Regions from separate parts of the Homo sapiens genome. Here region 1 is linked to region 2. Evidence: promoter capture Hi-C in 16 types of primary human blood cells and fetal thymus (Javierre and others, 2016). All regions are on one chromosome and are shown on one strand. The core of a region is centred on a gene start or on the middle of the fragment in contact, and the rest is flanking DNA. Distances in the headings are between cores, read along the strand shown. Region 1 has its middle 33 kb from the start of GNG13. Region 2 holds the start of TPSD1 (tryptase delta 1).

Region 1 (3,675 bases), core at 276-2,775, 420 kb before region 2:
TGGGGGGGTGGAGTGTGAGGGGGGAGGGGGTATGAGGCAGGGGAGGAGCATGAGGGTGGGGAGGGGGTGGGGTGGTCAGGGTGTAGGGTGAAGGCGTGAGCCACAGTGCCCGGCCTCTCTCTTTTTTTTAGAGCTGGGTCTCACTCTGCTGTCCAGGCTGAAGTACAGGTAAGATCGTGGCTCGCTGTGCTCAAGTGATCCTCCTGGCCTAGCCTCCCAAAGTGCTGGGACAACAGGTGTGAGCCACTGCGCCCCCCTCCAGGTTTAGCTGTGGGATGTTTGGGCTTTGAAAGGAGCTGATCTGACGGAGCCAGGAGGGCTGGCTGCAGGACAGAGACAGGACGGCTGTCACAGCAGCCTCTGCCCCCAGCCGGTGCCCTGTCCTCGCCGTCTCTGTCCAGGAGGTCAGAGCAGTAGCACCCGCCCCGCCCCGTCCACCCTGTGGATCCTCAGCCCATCCGCCACCCCGCCCCGCCCCGCTCCGCCCCATCCACCCTGTGGCAGAGGCTTTTCATGGCAGCTCCGAGAACAGGAGGACAGTCACCTCCAGCATTTGCTCTGAGTCTGTTCCCTGGCGAGGTGAGGCCCCAGCTGTTTTAGCGCTCATAAAAATTTACGGCCATCACAAGGGAGCTCAGCTGGGTGGATCACGGTGTCGGGGCGGCGCCCCTGTGAGCTACCTTTTGTGAGCCGCTCCGGACACTTTGGCTCCGGGCTGGCATCTCCTGCCACCCTCATGAGAGCAGTGGCTGCAGCCCCCGCCTCTTGGGCTGGCCCTGTCATGGCAGCAAGGGCTCTGCGTGTGTACGGCCGCCCCCTGCAAGTGTGCTTGTTAACGGGGACTGTGAGGAACTGTGGGGGACTCAGGGCACGGGGAACCGGGGTCGGGCTGAACATTACTCCCTACTCTGAAAGGACAGCGTTGGGACAATGTGGCCAGGCTGCGTGAGGCTGAGTGGGGCAGCATGGCCAGGAGGGGCGAGGGGAGGGGGTGCGAGGCAGGAGGCTGGAAGTAGGGAGAAGGGGTGTTCCACTCACCATCACCCATCCCACCAATCTCGCTCACAAATCCCTGTAGTCTGCAGTGGCTGCCTCTTTATTCCTGGAACAGTGGCTTGGGTTGGGGTCTGCGTCTTGGATGGGGGAGAGCAGGGGGCTCATGCCCGGGAGCCCATGGACAAAGGCACCTGCTCCATGGTAGAGAAGGTTCTGCCCCAGCAAGGGGGCCGTCGAGCGGACAGCCCAGGGCAGCCACATGGGGAGGCTGGGTTGGGGACAGCAGCCCCGGCGCCTCTCCCGGAGAAGCAGCCTCCCCAAGCTGTGCCTGAGCCGAGGGCACCGTCCAGGTCATCTCAGCCAGAGCCTTGGCCGGGTCTAGGGGAGGGGTCACGCCAACGTGATGACCTCCTGGCAGCTGTGTGACTTGAAGGTTTTCAAGCAAAGGCTGAATAGCCCGGAGAACATCCACACACCCAGGCCCAGGGTCAGCCATTTCGGCAACTTGCCCATATGTGTTTTACACGTTACGCACATGCCTTTGTGTTTTCTGCCCACCGTTTTGAAGAAAGCAGCAGACACTGTGACTGTAAATACTTCAGCGTCTCCCGACGTGGGGACACTCCCATTAGAGAACAAATCCAGTGAATTAGTGAACAGGTGCATGCATTCAAACACGAATCTGTGCTGGCCGTGGTGGCTCACGCCTGTAATCCTAGCACTTTGGGAGTCTGAGGTGGGTGGATCACTTGAGGTCAGGAGTTGGAGGCCAGCCTGGCCAACATGGCAAAACCCCGTCTTACTAAAAATACAAAAATTAGCTGGGTGTGGTGGCGCAGGTCTGTAATCCCACCTACTCGGGAGGCTGAGGCAAGAGAATCGCTTGAACCTGCAAGGTGGAGGTTGCAGTGAGCTGAGGTCATGCCATTGCACTCCAGCCTGGGCAACAAGAGTGAAACTTTGTCTCAAAAAAAAAATTAATTTAACAAGAGAAGTGCAAGACTTGTACACTGGAACTACACTGGAAAGAAAGAAAGGTCTAAATAAATGCAAAGACATCCATGTTCATGGATAGGAAATCTTAATATAGCTAAGATGAGAATACTTCCCAAATTGATCTACAGATTCAACACAATCCGTATCAGAATCCCAGCTGATTTTTGTGTGTGCAGAAATGGACAAGGTGACTGTAACGTTCATATCAAATTGCAAGAGATGGCAGAGAGCCAAAATCATCTTGAAAAGGAACAAAGTTGGAGAATTCAAATTTCCCACTGAGGGATAGTGGCTCGCGGGGCCTGTGTACCAGCCTGGTTGTCTTGGCAGAAGTTTGGCATTTTGATACGCCTGATGCTTTCCTGTGCCGTCTGCCTCATTCCTCACTCCTTGAGTTTCCTGTGGGCTGGGGTTGAGGGGGTTCAGCCCAGTCTCCACCCAGCACCCTCAGCCAGCTCGTCTGTGCCGTCTGCCTCATTCCTCACTCCTTGAGTTTCCCGTGGGCTGGGAGTTCAGCCCACAGTCTCCACCCAGCACCCTCAGCCGGCTCCTCTGTTGGGTGCTGTGTCTGCGTCTCTGCATTGTTCCACCGACACCACAGCTGCACTTGTCCCTGTGATGGGCCCAGGCTGGGCTCCTCTTGCCCTGTGGTCTCCGATTCCTATTACCTGTCACCAAACAGTTCGCCCCCTTGGTGGTCCTTGCCTGAGTCACCATGGGTAGCAAAATGGTTTCTTCTAGAACTTTTGTGGCCGTATTATTACAGACTTGTCTTTAGTAGGGGCAAAATCCCATCCTCACGTCCCTCACCAAATTAAATGGCTGTCCAGACTCCATGTGGACTGTGACCCTGGGCCTGTGGGACCAGACTGGCCTGGGGAATGGGCATGACTCGTGTTGTGGAGGGAGGTGGGGAGTGGAAGAGAGGATGCCCTTCCATGTGTGGCCCGCCCTGCCCTGCCCTCCCCACACAAACTCCCTGGTTTCTGCCTGTGCCAAGCCATGAGCCTCCAGGAGGGCCTGGACTGGGGGAAACCAGTCTGGGGGCTGCAGCCCCCTCAGGCCCAGCTTCAGAGGACCCCACAAAGTGATGGGCCTGAAGGGGAGGGGGAGGGCATCTGCCTGCTCTGCAGACCCCAGGCCAGGCCAGGGGCTGGGCCAGACACAGGGGCTGCTTCTGGGCATGACCCCCCCCCCCGACCCCCCGCCCAAGTGAGGTGGCTGTGTGACCTTCGTGCTGGGCGTTTGTCTGGGACACAGAGCTGTGGCCTCCCCCACTGTGCAGCGATGGCCGACCTGTCTCTTGAGACCGTCTGTCCCCTTCTGAGCCCCTGGGAATAGTGGGGTGAGTTACCAGCCACACAGCTGCATGGCTGGACACTTCTCCCCACACCTCAGCCTGAGGCCCTGTGCTGGAGCACCGAGGATCATCTGGGCGGGAGCTGCCTGCGGCCTGTGGGTGCCTAGCTGTGCATCTCTGGGACCTGGAGGGAAGGATAGCTCAGAAGGGGCTTTTCAGGGGTGACCATGTAAGGCAAATTAAGGAAAGAGGGTGAACAGGGAACACTCGAAGATGAGAGATGCCTTTTCTCTTTGAGCATGTGTGAGAACATGCTAGGGTGGTCTGGAAGGTCTGTAATGGGGGTGGTGCTGGGTATTGCCCTATTGGGGGTGCAGCCTCCG
Region 2 (4,157 bases), core at 377-2,876:
CTCCTGAAGGTCCCATCTTGTGGGCCTCATTCATGGAACCAGGACGGGGCAGGTGGAGGCCTCTGGGGAGTTTGTCCAGAGAATGGAGGAGAAGCAGGGTCATGAGCAGGAGCGGTCTGGGCCACCCCTGCCTGTCCCCCGGGGGGTGCAGCCCGGAAGGAGTCCAGATGGATATGGCCCCGCAGTGCAGAGTCAGCCTCAAACCAGGCTGGTCCCAGGCAGGGTGGGGGCAGGAGGAGCCCCGGAGTGGCCCTGTGTTGGGGGTCGGGGGGCAGGCAGGGGGTCCTGGGGCTCAGAAGCAGAGGAGGTGGGCTGGAGGCCCCAGTGACCAACAGGCCCAGGTGAGTCAGGAGGTGGGGTGGACGGAGCTGCAGGGACAGTGTCAGCGCTGAATGGGATGGAGAGCACAGGGAGCTGGGGCCGGGGGTGAGACCAAGGGGAGCTGGGCTGGGGCTGGGGGTGAGTCCATGGGGAGCTGGGGCCGGGGGCTGGGACTAGTCCATGGGGAGCTGGGCTGGGGCTGGGGGTGAGACCATGGGGAGCTGGGCTGGGGCTGGGACTAGTCCATGGGGAGCTGGGCTGGGGCTGGGACTAGTTCATGGGGAGCTGGGCTGGGGCTGGGGGTGAGTCCATGGGGAGCTGGGCTGGGGCTGGGGGTGAGTCCATGGGGAGCTGGACTGGGGCTGTGGGTGAGTCCATGGGGAGCTGGGGCTGGGGCTGGGACTACTCCATGGGGAGCTGGGGCTGGGGCTGGGACTAGTCCATGGGGAGCTGGGCTGGGGCTGTGGGTGAGTCCATGGGGAGCTGGGCTGGGGCTGGGGGTGAGTCCATGGGGAGCTGGGCTGGGTCTCCTGGGGTTGCACCTGCACTCCTGTCTGCCCTTCCCTCTGCGGATGAAGCTCAGATCCCATGATAAGAAGGCACCTGCAGACCAGGGGACCTGCACGGACAGCCCCAGAGGTGGACATTGAGGAATCGTTGGAGGACTTGGGTCTCATACGGGAGGTGGGGAGCAGGGCCCCTTCCTGGCTGAGGACACTTGGTGCTGTCCCCTCTCAAGGCTGTTTCCCCATCTGACAAAGGGGTCTCATGTGAGCCCCCAACCAAGTGAGTCGAGGAGGGCTGGCCCCACCCCCGTGGATTCGGAGTCCGTAGGAGGGGTGTCACCCGTCATGTCCCCACCCCGTGGGCACCTTCCCGTCTCTTGGAGGGTGGCCCATGGACATGAGTTCCTCACCCCGTGTCCCTCTTGGGGAAACAGGTTTCAGGAGCGACGGGTCTTGTAGCCTGGGGCAGCCAGGCCACCTGGGTGCAGCTATGCCTGAAGGCCTCCTGGCACCGAGACAGGGGCAGGAGCAGATCCCACCAGCGGGAAGGTGGTGGGTTCCAGTGCTGGGATCCACCAGCTGACAGGTGGAGCTGCGAGCCTCCAGTGCTCAGCCCTCGGCGGGGCCTGCCTGGCAGCCCCACACACAGAGGGCATCGGGGTGGCGGGGGCATGTGTTACACGGGGGCCCTGGGTCTGAGTCATCCACTTCCTCCGAGTCTGGATGGGAGGACCCAGCGCCCCTCCTCCGCCCCCTCCTGATCTGGAAGCATAAATGGGGAGGGGAGAGCCCGCTGGGTAGAAGGAACAGGGAGTGGCCAGGGTAAGTCCCTACTCTCAGAGACCCTGACATCAGCGTCACCTGGAGCAGAGTGGCCCAGCCTCAGACTCAGAGCACCAAGACCCAGGCCCGCAGGCCTGGACCCACCCCGGTCCCCCCGTCCCAGCTCCATTCTTCACCCCACAATCTGTAGCCCCCAGCCCTGCCCTGTGAGGCCCGGCCAGGCCCACGATGCTCCTCCTTGCTCCCCAGATGCTGAGCCTGCTGCTGCTGGCGCTGCCCGTCCTGGCGAGCCCGGCCTACGTGGCCCCTGGTGAGTCCCAGCCGGGGTCCACCCTGCCCCTCACCACATTCCACAGATCAGGGCCTGGGTGGGTTCTGGGGAGGCCGGGCTGGCCCCCACACAGGGAAGGGCTGGTCCCAGGCGTGGGGCGGCTTCTTGGTCCTGACCTGGCACCTGCCCCAGCCCCAGGCCAGGCCCTGCAGCAAACGGGCATTGTTGGGGGGCAGGAGGCCCCCAGGAGCAAGTGGCCCTGGCAGGTGAGCCTGAGAGTCCGCGGCCCATACTGGATGCACTTCTGCGGGGGCTCCCTCATCCACCCCCAGTGGGTGCTAACCGCGGCGCACTGCGTGGAACCGTGAGTCTCCTGGGGCCTGGAGGGGTGGGCAAGGGCTGGATGTGAGCCCTGGCTCCCGGGTGCTCCTGGGGGCTGCCCAGGGCCCTGAGTGGGATCCTCCGCTGCCCAGGGACATCAAGGATCTGGCCGCCCTCAGGGTGCAACTGCGGGAGCAGCACCTCTACTACCAGGACCAGCTGCTGCCGGTCAGCAGGATCATCGTGCACCCACAGTTCTACATCATCCAGACCGGGGCGGACATCGCCCTGCTGGAGCTGGAGGAGCCCGTGAACATCTCCAGCCACATCCACACGGTCACGCTGCCCCCTGCCTCGGAGACCTTCCCCCCGGGGATGCCGTGCTGGGTCACTGGCTGGGGCGACGTGGACAATAATGGTGGGTGTTGGGGACAGCGGGAGGCCGGGCCAGGTGGGCACCAAGTCACAGCCACAGGCCAGTCCGTGGGGTGACAGGGTCCCTCAGGGCGGCTCAGGGAGGGGGACTGTGGAGGCCAGGATGGATGGAGCAGGCGGTGGCGAGAGGCAGCAGGTGCCCTGAGCAGAGACGGTGAGTCCAAAGGGCCTGGGCGTCCCCCACCCCAGGGGTTTGGAGAGTCCCTTAGCACCTCCGTGCCTCGGTTTCCCCTTGCCTGAAAGGGTGCATCAAAAGTTTGTACGTCACGGACTTGCTATGTGGAGAGAGAAATCACACGGGGGTCTTGCTGGAAGGAGAGAGACCGGTGCTGGGATGAGACCTGCCTGCCCTCCATCCCTGTGCTACAGACAAGGCAGGGGCCTGGGAATCGGGGTCGTGGCAGTGCTGTGGGGGGCTGGACGAAGCTCACTGTGGCCCTCCACGAGGCACATTTTCACTTCTAGAAGGTCTTGTCCCCATTTTATCCACAATTCAGAGCAAAGCTTTGGGGTACAGCCTGAGCGGCAACCCTGGGCTGTGACCTCTGGGTCACTCAGAAGGGGCCTGAGCCACTGTCCCGCTATTCCGCCCCACACAGCGGGGAAGCTGAGCCCAGCGCCCTGTGTTCCCCTCGGCTAGGGCCAACCGTGGACCATGGGCCTAGCCCAGACGAAAGTCAGCTGAGCCCAGGGGGAGACACGGGTCGGGCTCTGCACCCCCGTGCCATGGAGCCCAGCTTGGCAACCTCCAGGGCCCTCCCCTCCCTTCCCCAGATGGGGCTTAAATGAGGCCAGGGACCCAGGACCAGCCTCAGCGGAGGGGCCTGGACTGCATTCACCGCCCCTTCCCCGGGGCTGCAGGCACAGAACAGCACTGGGCCCATGGTGCCATCTCCCCTGCCCGTGACTCTGCCACCAAGTCCACGAAGCAGCACCCAGCCGGCCCCAGACCCGGCTCCACGCCCCCCTCCGCCCCCAGTGCACCTGCCGCCGCCATACCCGCTGAAGGAGGTGGAAGTCCCCGTAGTGGAAAACCACCTTTGCAACGCGGAATATCACACCGGCCTCCATACGGGCCACAGCTTTCAAATCGTCCGCGATGACATGCTGTGTGCGGGGAGCGAAAATCACGACTCCTGCCAGGTGGGCCCTCGCGTCCCCCACCCCAATCCCCGGAGCCTGGCCAGCGAGCGCATCCCTCATCCTGACCCCCGAAGCCTGGCCAGCGAGCACTGACCTCTGACCTTCCCAGGGTGACTCTGGAGGGCCCCTGGTCTGCAAGGTGAATGGCACCTAACTGCAGGCGGGCGTGGTCAGCTGGGAGGAGAGCTGTGCCCAGCCCAACCGGCCTGGCATCTACACCCGTGTCACCTACTACTTGGACTGGATCCACCACTATGTCCCCAAGAAGCCCTGAGCCAGGCCTGGGGTGTCCACCCGGGTCACTGGAGGGCCAGCCCCTCCTGTCCAAACCACCACTGCTTCCTACCCAGGTGGTGACTGCCCCCCACACCTTCCCC

What was found. The method cuts DNA at HindIII sites, captures the fragments that hold promoters and counts their contacts. A CHiCAGO score of 5 or more calls a contact.
Region 1: a contact is called between a fragment that was not itself captured here and the fragment with the promoter of TPSD1 in region 2, in 3 of 17 cell types (M1 macrophages, M2 macrophages and erythroblasts). The highest score is 8.0, in M1 macrophages.

Annotation. Positions count from the first base shown.
Region 1 is chr16:832,325-835,999 of GRCh38, forward strand. No RefSeq gene overlaps it. Among named protein-coding and RNA genes, the nearest start is that of GNG13, 33 kb to the left of the region's middle. The HindIII fragment of the contact is 5,308 bases long and covers 1-3,675 here.
Region 2 is chr16:1,254,443-1,258,599 of GRCh38, forward strand. TPSD1 (tryptase delta 1) reads left to right here and starts at 1,627. Exons shown (of 5, transcript NM_012217.3): 1 at 1,627-1,920; 2 at 2,074-2,245; 3 at 2,355-2,620; 4 at 3,617-3,780; 5 at 3,890-4,157. The coding sequence starts at 1,839. The coding sequence ends at 3,934. The HindIII fragment of the contact is 7,208 bases long and covers 1-3,139 here.